Linked DNA regions of Homo sapiens: region 2 is linked to region 1. The links are contacts of gene promoters, found by promoter capture Hi-C in blood cells and fetal thymus (Javierre and others, 2016). All regions are on one chromosome and are shown on one strand. Each heading gives the region's core, a stretch centred on a gene start or on the middle of the fragment in contact. The rest is flanking DNA. Distances are from core to core; before and after follow the strand shown. Region 1 holds the start of ASB1 (ankyrin repeat and SOCS box containing 1). Region 2 holds the start of RAMP1 (receptor activity modifying protein 1).

Region 1 (5,855 bases), core at 1,177-3,676:
TGTAAAAATAGTTACACAGATTCGTGTGTAAGTAAAGAGCAAAAACTCAGACCACTTGGATTCAAGTCCCTGCTCTGCCATGCTGTCCTAGTGTGAGACCAGACAGGCAGGTATAAAGCACCCCCTCCATAAGGGGGCTCTTTCCAGATGCTGACATTGTTTTTTATATTAAAATTAATCTCTTTTCAGTACTACTGTACATGAGACTCAACCACAGGTGAAACGGGGGTGATGAGTAAGTGTCCCGGCTCTGCAGGGTTTGACAGTCCACTGAGTTGCTCATGCTGATCCCACAACCAGACTCGCCGCAGATCAACAAGCCGGCATGAACAGCTCTTTAAGCCACCACCCCAGTCTTCCTTCAGTAACTATCCTCCCCTGTAATTACTCCACAGTTGCGGTTACTACAGAGTGAAAAAGTTCAAAGTCGGAGTGGGAAAGATTCAGGTGTAGGGCAATAACCAACAGGTAAATGGCGGCCACAGGACTTTTGCTGAGCCCTCTTCTGGGCCCCCTCTGCTGGCCTCTGTGCTATCCATTCCTGGCCCTGCTCAAAGTAGACTCAGAATCTTTCCCCAGCTCCAGATTCAAAAGCAACTTCAAGTTTGTGTTTCGCTGATCAACTACTCCAATGACAACACAACTGCCCCAGGATAGCACTTAAGCTTCAACTGAAAATCTGTTGCCCCTCTACCCGAGGCCGAAACACACTGAATAACAAAACAGCAGTGCATGAGGATATAAAAAGGAGCCCTCAGCTGAGTGTGGTGGCTGCCGCCTGTAATCCCAGCACTTTGGGAGGCAGAGGCGGGCAGATCACCTGAGGTCTAGAGTTCGCTATCAGCCTGGCCAATATGCCAATATGGTGAAGCCCCGTCTCTACTAAAATACAAAAATTAGCCGGGCATGATGCCAGCACCTGTAATCCCAGCTACTAGGGAGGCTGAGGCCAGAGCATCGCTTGAACCCCCGAGGCGGAGGCTGCAGTGGGCCGAGATCACGCCACTGCACTCCACCCTGGGCAACAAGAGCGAAACTCCGTCTCAAAAAAAAAGGAGACCTGTGCAGCCGACAAAGCCAGTGTTTATTCCCCAGGAACTCTCTTTATACTGGGAAGTAGCTGTTGGTCCTCTTTTTCCCACGGAACACGCATCATTCCGTCTCTCACTCTCACATGAGATGACATCCTAGACCCTAAGGTCCTGGCTGTCTCTGAAGTCAAAGTCAACGCCAACCAAAGCCCAGGATGGTAGATGCTTTGTCTGGCTTTTTCTGGTCACTGCAGTATCCTCTGCTGGGTCTAGCCAACAGCAGGTCTTCAATACAAGTCTGTTAAATGATTGGAAGGAGGTGCAGAGGGAGGGATGGATGGAAAAGCCTATCTGCACCAGTCTCCAAGTCAATCTTTTAAGATGTTTAAGAAATGTATTGGTTTATTACTAAGTAGGAGAGGAACCCCTCCAAAGACAAATATAGGCATGTAAAGAAAGCCCAGAACACACGAAACTATTGGCGCGAATGGCAAGCTCAGAAATCCAGCAAGAAGGAACTCCCACCACACCACCGGGAAACGGGAACCTGTCCTGACCGCTTCCTTCACATCTGCATGGTAGGGACACTGCAAGGTGGAGACCCTAAGTAGGACAGTTATTTTGGAAGGTGGGTGTGAGCCTTTCTATCTGCCTCCCTTGCTGGTGGGCCAAAGGCCCCTGGACATGTTGTGTCACTGACGAGCTCGCTGGAGACGGCGTCCCCGTTGTCCCTGGTCTGTGCCTGTGGTGGGTGGGAAGGCTGCCCCCCGCTGTACCACCGGACACGCCGTGGGCGGCAGAATGGTGAAAAAGTGCCTGCCCTCCCTAGGGCTACCCTCTGGCTGGCTTTCCTGATCCGTGCGCTCAGAGCTGGAAGGTGGCCCACGTCCTACTTTTGCGGTTGGGTCATATCAAATCTGTATCGGCTAACGGGAAGGAAGTTACGAGCAAGTTCCACCGGAAAGAAAATCTAGCGCGGGGACTGCACTCGAGGCCGAGGAGAGGGCAGCGCGTCCGTGGTGGGGTCGCCCAGCACTGCGAGCCGCGCTGAACCCCACCCCCGGCCTGCAGGGTGCGGCTCCCTGGCTGCCCCGTGGACCCGGCCAGCCCGGGACGAGGACGCAGGACCTCGGCAGGGACGCCGGAGCCAGCCCTTCGCCATCCCCACACGCCCCGCGGCCCAGTGGCCGCGCGCACGTTACCTGCGGAGCCCGGCCCTGCCCGCCCGTCTGGGCTGCCGCCCTCCGCCATGGATGCTTCCGCCTCCGCGGCCGCCCCTGACCCGCGCACGCCCCTCGGGCAGGAAGCAGAACGACCCGCGACCACTTCCGGCGCCGAGGGCAATGGGGGGCGCGTCGGGGTCGCGGCTTCCGGCGGGCGCGCGCCGGCCTCACTGGTTTCCGGGGCCGCGCAGGGGCCACGCCTCCGCTTCCGGCCTCGCTGTCTAGCAGGGCGCTGGCTGGTCCCTTCGTCCGGCGGGAACTTCGCGGCTAACCGACTCTCTGGATGCCGGCCGCGCTGTGGTTTCCTCACATAAGAAGCCAAGGAGTCGGAAAGCCCGTTGCCTGAGGCAGCAGTCTGGGAATTTCGGTCCGGCGGGCCGTCCCCACCCACACGGACGGGGCGTGGCTTCTGCCAGATGTGGGCGGGGCCCCGAGGGCCGTGGCGGGCGGGACCCGGGCCTCGGCCGGGCTGGCTTGGTCCCCGCAGGTGCCCCCCGCTAGCCACGAGCAGCCCCGGGAGGGTGGATTCGGAGGCGCGGGGACTGGTGAGGGCCCACTGCAGGGCTGAGCGTCGCAGCGTGCTGTGGTTTTAGATGAATGCTCCTCCAAATCCCTTCCATGAAGCCCTCAATCAGGTCGGTAACTGATGACAGCCAGTGGCTGACGCGAAGTTCATTGAATAAATGAATGCATTCGTGAACAACCGAGTAACATTTCTTGCACACTCCCAACTTCAAATATCGCAGCGTCGTCCCACCATGAGTATTGGTGTTGGTCCTAAAGCACGGATTCCCTTGGCTCCTCCCATTCTCCCCTGCTGAGTTAGACAGCGGGGCCTCATGCAGGAGGAGGATTTGTACACAGCACAGCAGGAGGCTGATGAGGGAGTCCGGAGACCCCAGCAGTCGTGGGCGTGAGCTGCTGGCTCATCCGTGTGTACAACATTCCAGACTGGAGTAAGGGAAGCCGCAGGCGCAGCCCCGCGAGTGCCCCTGCTGAGGCTGGCCCTGGGTGGCCCAGATGCACCAGGGGGCCCACTGGGGGCAGACCTGGCAGGCCCTGTGGGGGTTGGAGGCGGGAGTGGGGGTACTTCCTACAGTGGTGTTTGGTCTTGATGACAGCAGAGAGCACCACTGGCATGAGGGACAGGTGACTCCGATGATGACGCTGCCAGGCCAGGAGCCAGGGGTGTGCCCAGCCCCTGGCTCCACCACAGCTGCACATCCCGAACTCGGAGCTTCAGCAACTCCGAAGCCTGAAGCCGCCTCACGTGTTGTTGGATGGATGAATGGATAAACGAAATGCCGTCCATCCATACAATGGAATCGTACTCAGCCTTAGAAAGGAAATGCTGTCCGTCCATACAATGGATTCGTACTCAGCCTTAGAAAGGAAGGGAATCCTGACACACGTCACAACACGGATGACCTTGAAGACGTTATGCTGAGTGAGATAAGCCAGCCACAAAAAGACAAATACAGTACTGTGTGATTCCAATTATTTGAGGTCCCTGGAGCAGTGAAATGGTGGAGCGGAATGGGGGTTGCCAAGGGCTGGGGGAGTGGGGAATGAGGAGTTAGTTTTTCATGGGGACAGAGCTTCAGTTGAGGAAGATGAAAAAGTTTTGGAGACGGGTCACACAGCAATGTGAATTGTGCATTAACAGTACTGAACTGCGCATTTAAAGCAGGTTAAGTTTTATGTTCTATATATTTTACCACAATTGTTTTAAAGAATTTTTTAAAAGAGGTTCCGGTGCAGTCAGTCAGGGGTGCGGGTTGGGTGTTGGGTGGTTCAGAGCACCCAGGTGATTCTAAAGTGCAGCCTGGTGAGAGCCACGTCTCCGGGGGCCTCCGCTGCTCTGCCTGCCTGGTCCCGGTGGGCTCACAGTGAGCGTTCTGCGTGTCGGTAGCCTTTGCATCAAGGTATTGAGTCCCTGAGCAGAGTGGCCCTCCTGCACCTGCACCTCCACCTTCCCTGCCACGTGTTGCCCTTGGGATCCTGCCTCTTAGAAGAACCTGAGGCCGCACGTGGTCTGTAGCGGGGAGGTGGCCTCACATGCCCACCTCCGTGCCTCCTAAATGCCCACATGGTGCAGGGCAGTGTCCACAGAGCCAGCAGTGCTGGAGGGGGAAGGACACTCAATTGCTGGCCACTCTGCCAATACCATCACCCCCATTTCTCAGGACCCTGAGATCTGGGGGCCTGGTGCTATGCCCAAAACCACATAGCCCACAGGTGGCTGAGTTGGGATCACATCCAGACTGTCCAGCCCTACAGCCTGTCTCCCCCTCTGACCTCACCTCTCCAGAGTCCCTCTTCTTCCAGGTCCTCTGAGCCCAAAAGACCCACCAACACAGGGACACTCAGTGACCGCTAGAGATGAAGCAACTTGGGTCCCATCACCTACAAGCAACAGGGATTTACCAGTGCCTACCAGTGCCATCCCAGCCCAGCACAGCAGCAACAGGACCAGTGCAGTGGGCTGTCTTGCCCCTCCAGGTCCCAGTGGCTCCCTCCCGTTTTCCCACCCCTAAAATCACCCGTCGCTTCCTGTTGCCTCCTGGAGGCTCAGGCCTCCCCCAAAGTGTCCCCAGTGACCCCTCTGTGGAGCCTAGCCCAGTCTTTGTGGTGGAAAATTTGGCAGTCTAGCTAAAGCATAAGAATGAATAATCCTTGATCAGAAATGCCTCTTCCAGGCATTCATTCTAGGGAAATAATCAGATGTGGGGGAGATTCAGCTACAGTAGTGCTCATTACCATCATTTTATAACAAAAATGTCCAACAATGGACTTTCTGGTTCAGGAGGTCTGAGAAGGGGCCCCCATCCCTCATCCTTCCTGTTGCAGGGAACTGGGGGCCCCTCTGGAAGCATGGCAGGTATATGGGGGGCTGGAAACATGAGCTCCACAGCTGCAGGCTGGTGAGGATCCTGCTGGGCCTGGGTGTGCTGGTGCTGCTGTCGCTTAACCCCCACAGCTGTCTCCGGGAATTGGGCAGCAGATGTCACCCAGGCAGGGACCAGAAATGGGAATCTCTCCTGATCCTAGGCCCTGTGGGCCTGTGTTTGGGGTGTCTCCTCCCAGGAGGCCCAGCCCTCTCTTCCCCTTTGAAGGATCTCCTGCTTTGAAGGAAGCAGGGGATCTGAAGGTTTACCAGGTGAGGCCACGAGATGAGGGCAGCCCGCTGACCCTCCAGGCTTTGCCCTGGAAACATCTTTACCAGCCCCTGCCCCGCAGACCCTGTCTCAGGCCTTGGAGCCCACCTGCAGAGAGTCAGGGTGTCTGCCCCAAGCTAGGGAGGCAGATCCACATCCTTCCAGCTGAGTCACCAGGACAGGGTGACTCCTCTGAGCACCAGCTGCCTCCCTGTCAAATCGGGCTGATAATACCCACTTTGCAGGCTTTGTAAAGACACAAAATCCCATAGAATGTGCCACAGGCTTCCTGGGGCAGAGAGAGCCTCAGGACACAGTGGGCATCGGTGCCATGGCTGCTAACGCTATGGCATGGCTTTGCTGAGTGGAGCCACGCCCACCTCCAGCCTCCCACCCCACCCCACCCTGTCCTAAACTGAGCCCACCTTCTCTGCCCAGCTTGG
Region 2 (5,855 bases), core at 2,189-4,688, 570 kb after region 1:
GCCTGCCGTCCCTGCAAGGGACAGACACCCATCTCAAACGTTATGGGTCACATGATGGAAATGTGTACCCCATGAGCTCGATCTAGGGGCTCAAAAGGCTTCAGGAGTGCTCTATGTCATGGACAGGTACTCCCCCATGGCTCACAGGGTAGACTGTGGCAGCCCCACTCAGATCCAGCCTGGAGGAAAGACGCAGCTTTTCCCCGTGGTTCCAGCAGAACACTGACTGTCCAGCCTGCGGCCAGTCTCCTCCCTGGGACCATCTGGATGGCCAGGCCTGGCTCAGAGACCACTGAGGGCCAGCCCACCATACCACAAAGACCGTCAGGAAAGAGGGGTTCTAGGCCTGAGTTGGGGGTGGGGGCACTGGCAGGGGCACTGGCAGGCAAGCCCGAGGGGCTTCACTCTCTGGGCTCAGCATTTCCGCTGGAATTCACACTACACATGGCACCTGCATCACACAGTCAGCCAGACGCCAGTTGTAACTGATTAGAAGCTATGAAATGGGCGCATTCTGGGGAAAAAAATCAGGACAGACTTTTCCAACTAGCCTTAACTAAAGATTCCACCTAAAACATTTCCCGGAGCTGAATCTACCATTTGCACTGTGGATATAAATGTTTCTCAACAGCCCTGGCCTCGGACTGGTAATAAGCACGCTGACAGGCATGCGCCTGTGGAAGGAAGACAAAAATCCAGAAATTTCTTCCTGCAGCTAGACACACAGAGAGGGTAAACAAACACACTGAGTTGATTAACAAATAAGAATCCTTCAGATTTGGACTTTGGCATGAGAACTGTGTCCAGATTTAAAACCGCATGGCAATCTGAAGCAGTCACATAGCATTTCCTGTGATGTCCCTGTCATTCCAATTCTACTTGTATTTATATAAAGTCATACATTTCAATTAATGTTGCAGCCATTAAAAAAACCCCTGGCTCCCACGTGACAGCCAAGGAAGGCATGCGTTTCCTAGGACAGGTGACTGAGTTCATGTGTGACAGCACCAGCCAGCATTCCCTGAGTGAAGATGGACTCGAAAAACCAGGGGCTTCTAACGCATCCTTCTTTCCTGGTTAACGAACAGCTTTTCGGTGTCTATACACAAACTTTTCAGAATGCATGTAGAGTCTCCAGTAAACAGAAGAGTACACAGGATGCTCAGAGGGAAAAGAACTATATATGGATCCTAAGTTTTTTTTTTTTTTGAGACGGAGTTTCACTCTTATCACCCAGGCTGGAGTGCAGTGGCATGATCTCAGCTCACTGCAACCTCTGCCTTCTGAGTTCAAGCGATTCTCCTGCCTCAGCCTCCCAAGTAGCCGGGATTATAGGTGCCTGCCACCATGCCTGCCTAATTTTTTTTGTATTTTTAGTAGAGACGGGGTTTCACCATGTTGGCCAGGCTGGTCTTGAATTCCTCACCTCAGGCGATTCACCCACCTCAGCCTCCCAAAGTGCTGGGATTACAGGCGTGAGTCACCATGCCTGGCCGGATTATGAGATTCTTAATAACTACCTAAGACAAATAGCTTGATTGTAAAATTGTCACAGATAAGTTCTTAAACCTGTAAACTAGAGTACTTAAAAAAATTCCACATTGCCATTCTTGGTAGCAAAATCTTCATCACCAAGGAGACCTGGCTAGTGCTACAGCTTGGGAAGGAAACAGCCTGTGCTCAGTAATTCTACTAATTACAGCTGGGCTCCAATGACATTAATTTACTGATAACCTCATAAAGTTTTGTTTGTTCTTCCAAGAGATAACATTAGCCAGGCCACTCAAAATAACGTTAAAATTACAGGACTTTGGACTTTCGGCAGAACATGAATAGTTTTCTCGGTAAACAAGGAAGGTCTTTATATGTGATCGTGACATAGTGTTTTATTTACACAAGCTTTAGAGGGTTCAGCCTCTGGACACTAGTAAAGAACGTTTATTTATTTGGTTATTTATGTAAAAAATATTCCACAACCCAGCTCTCTGCCTTGCTAACAAAGAAATGTTTGTTTCTTAGTAAATGAAAACAGTGAAGGCCATGTCAAGCCAAATGGAGAGAATAAAATTACTGCGAGATTCTGCTTTCCACGTAACTTCAGCCAAAACTCTAAAGTGGCAAGATCCGCTTTCAGATTATATTATATCGGCCTCTGAGGATTCTATGCAGATCTGCCACCCCTTGGAGAGGTTTACAAATAGGGAACAGAAATCCATGGCTCCCAAGAAGCCCTGGCCCCTCTCCTCGCTGGGCCACGAACCACTCCCCCAGCTACAACAGCGCCGGTGGTCCCTGCTTGCCCAGTGCCAGCGCCAAAGAGGTCTTGTGCGGCAGGTGCCTCTGACCAACATCACTGTTTCCGGGGAAAGGCCACACATACCAGAAACAACTGCTCCGGCCTTCCCAGGGACACTGGGTTCTCCCACGCCAGTAACCTATTCACAGTTTCCGTTAAAAGGTAGCTAAATACACGGAATAATGCAATAGCCAAAGCGGTTTAGAAGGGGCTTGAGTTAGCATTTTAGGAACACATTACAGACAAGGGAAGTGAACAGCACCGTTTCTTGCCGAGTGTGTGGCCAGTTCCTGTGGCCATGAGGCTGCCGCTAATCTCCACTTCTCCCTCCAAGTGGAAAGCCAAACGTGTTCCACCACTTCACCAAGGGACCCGTCCTTCTTTAAATTTCTATTAGCCAAAAGTGCCAAGTTAACAAGCAAACCAAAAGAAAAAAGAAAAAAAGCGATGGAAGTGTCCCGAAAAGGGCTGGCCTCATTTCTGCAAAAGACGTGATTTGCAAACAAGCAACTGCTGCAGGCGACAGATTGTCAGTGTTGACTAATTTCCATACAAACCGGCTGTGGTTCTGATTCCCGAACACTGCGTCTTCTGCAAGGTGCCCGTCTGCAGGTTTTGCAACGCGGGACGGCCTAGGGAAGGGAGCCTGCGCTGGCAGTCACCGCGGCGCACAGCCTGAGAAACGAGGTGCGGGGCTGGGGAACCCCGCGTCCTGTTTTTCCTTCTGAAAACTAGTTCTCCAGTGTGCAGGGCTGACTCACCCCACGCTTTCCAGAATGCCCGCTCTCCGACGTCCCCAAAGCCGTCCCTTCCCCGGCGAGAAGCGCAACACCGGTCCGCGCCCTCCGCCTCCCCTGTGCCCTGGGGCCTCCCGCCTGGAACCGGGGCGGCCCGCGTTCAAGGGCAGCGGATCTGTGCGCCCGCGGCGCCCGCCCCCACCCGCTCCCACCCGCTCCCACCCGCTCCCCTCCTCTCCCCTAGAGGACACCGGCTGGCCAGGGGAAGGGAGCTCGGCCGGGACCCCTGGACCTACTCACCCAGGAGCAGCCAGAGGCCGCGCCGCGGGAGGCGGCACAGGGCCCGGGCCATGGTGCACAGCGGTGCCGAGTCGAGTCCGCTCGCCACGCGCCCCGCTGAGGACTGAGCCCGCCGCGGCGCGGGCCCGGAGGAGACGCGCCGGGGGCGGGAGCGGGCGCGGGAGCGGTGGGAGGCGGCGGCCGCGCGGCCCGGCCCACTGCGGCTCCCCGCGTGGGTGCCAGGGCCGGGGGCGCCCAGGGCCGGTAAAACTTTGCAGGGGGGCCGCGCGGGCGTCTCCAGGCCCCTCCCGGGGGGCGGCACACTTGGGGTCCCAGGAAGGCCTCCTGAAATGTTCTCCGAGCAAATAAACACTTTTTAAACTAGGGAGGGTCTCCTAGACGACTCAGCGTGAGGGGCACCTTGGTCTCCACCTGGGGATCTTCCCCTCCTCCTCCTCCGAGGTTCTGGGCGTTCCTGCCTGGTGTTTGCCTTGCAAAAGGCTAAGATCTCCCAGCCTTATCTACCTCTCCGCCCAGGTGCAGGCGCTGGGGAGCGTGGGGGGCAAAACTCGCCACCGCGCCTGGCGAGACCCGTAGTAACCCAAAATGGCGCACACTTACCAGGCCCTGGAATGCTGCTCCAGATCTGCAGGATGAGTGGGTGGGCAGAGGCGGGGACAGCACGGCAGGTGAACAGAAGCCGTGGGGCTGGAGGAACAGGGCTCTTTGGGGGGATTGAGATGGCCTGGGAGTCTTGCTGTTGATGGGTAGGTAGCGAGAGCCTGGCAGGAGGTTGTGAGGGCCTGGCCACAGAGTCTTGAGATGAGGTTTGCTTTGGTGGCACTCTGGCAGCTGCATGGAAAACTGATGGGGGATCTTGGGTACATTCGTTTATGTAAAGTGGTGAGAGGAGGGCGCTCTGGAGATGGGCCGGGGAAGCCTGCGGAGGAGCAGGTTTTGGGAGGCACAGGCCTGGCCTCTCGGCATTACTGGTGGCTGGATTTCACTTGCAGTGGTTCCTTCTTGTATTATCCTGTTCCGAGAACTCTTAGCAACAGTAAATTTATACTTGTGCTAAGGAATGCACCACTGCCCTTGGAGGGGGAAGAATCACCACCCTGGTGCTGCGGCCACAGCTGTCTCTTTTGTGGTGGAAGCTGCAAGCGCACAGCATTGCTGAGTGACCATCGTTTTCTCCTAGGAAAGGGAACAGTCTGTGGCTGAGAGGCTGCTGCCACCTGCAGTAAGCTCAGAGAAGGGGAGACAGCTGACAGCGAGGTCATCCACTGGTTCTTCTAACACAGGCTGGGAGGGCACTCAGGGCCAGCATGCCTACCACCTGTGCAGGGGCCCCAAGTGTTCTGAGAGTGAGGGGTGAGATGGTGGGGGAGGGCACACATTCTCTTGACTTGATTAGCCCTTGTTCTTGAACCCTAGGAGATACACCCCATTGGGTGGCCTGGCATCCCTACTTTCTTCATTTAACAGACATTTGTGTCCCTATGTGCAAGACACTGTTAGATCGACAAGCCCTGCCCTTCAATTGGTGAATCTAGGGGGTGACCTCTAAGACTCTCAATAACATGAGCGCCACAATACAGGAGCCACCCGGAACAAGGGACACTCGCCTCAGCTGCAGTGCAAGTAAGGAGACAAAGGATTCTGGACAAAATGCAGCCCAGGCAGTCCTGAGGGCTGGGTGGAGAGAAGGGCACAAGGGAAATGCAGGCCCGAGCACAGGCCTGGCAGCCAGAGGCCGTGCCATGTGAGAGCAGCACAGCTAGTGGGGAAGGGTGGCTGCCAGCACAGCCCTGGGACAGGGCCACCGTACATCCTGCACTAGGCGATGGCCAGTCATAGTGGGGGAGAAGAACCTGCATCTTTCTGCAGCCATCACTCGCCCTCCATATCCAGGGACTCTGGCTTGAGCCACCCTTTCTACTTGTAGCTTGTGGACTTTGGCTGCATGTTTTTGGTTGGCAACTGGGACTCCTCTTTCATCAGGCTCAGCAGGAGTCTTTCTTCCCAACGTTTTCTCTTTGAAGCTTGACTGCAAGGAGGCAAGGCCAGAGGCCCCTGTCACTGCTGTTTTCTCAACACCCCCTAAAGGATACATTTTCCTAAGAAGACAAAGCCTATTTCTCAAGTTCACATGCTTTAGAAATTCACAGTTCTCTGGAGAATGCTGAAGTAAGGCACACACCTAGAGGCATGTTCTCTCCTAATGATTTTCCTGTCTGTACCTTGGGTCTAAGTAAGACATTCCTTAGCAACTACTATGGGCTTCCCGTCTTCAAAAGTTGTAGTCTGATGTATCTGTATTTCTAATTGGTCATAGGTAGCATGGAAAATCATTCCTCTCCCAGGGTACCTCAATCTAGAGGGGCATTAGGTTAAACAATAGAAGAGATTAGAAAATGGCCAAGTGCTTTACTGCATACACAGTAGGGCTAAAGATACAATCAAAGCCTGGTCAACACTGCTAAAAATTCACTATTAACATAAGATTCCTGCTTCCAGCCGAGATGAAGTTACAGGGACTG

What was found. The method cuts DNA at HindIII sites, captures the fragments that hold promoters and counts their contacts. A CHiCAGO score of 5 or more calls a contact.
Region 2: a contact is called between the fragment with the promoter of RAMP1 here and the fragment with the promoter of ASB1 in region 1, in 4 of 17 cell types (naive B cells, total B cells, erythroblasts and 1 more). The highest score is 8.6, in naive B cells.

The regions. Positions count from the first base shown.
Region 1 is chr2:238,423,498-238,429,352 of GRCh38, reverse strand. ASB1 (ankyrin repeat and SOCS box containing 1) reads right to left here and starts at 2,426. Exons shown (of 5, transcript NM_001040445.3): 1 at 2,234-2,426. The coding sequence starts at 2,282. LOC124908002 (a long non-coding RNA gene) reads left to right here and starts at 2,459. Exons shown (of 2, transcript XR_007088163.1): 1 at 2,459-5,855. RefSeq lists enhancers at 1,678-1,797, 3,310-3,845 and silencers at 2,048-2,567, 2,588-2,977. The HindIII fragment of the contact is 6,850 bases long and covers 668-5,855 here.
Region 2 is chr2:237,857,206-237,863,060 of GRCh38, reverse strand. It overlaps RAMP1 (receptor activity modifying protein 1), which reads right to left and starts at 3,438. Exons shown (of 3, transcript NM_005855.4): 1 at 3,334-3,438. The coding sequence starts at 3,385. RefSeq lists enhancers at 4,051-4,837, 4,838-5,626. The HindIII fragment of the contact is 3,458 bases long and covers 1,902-5,359 here.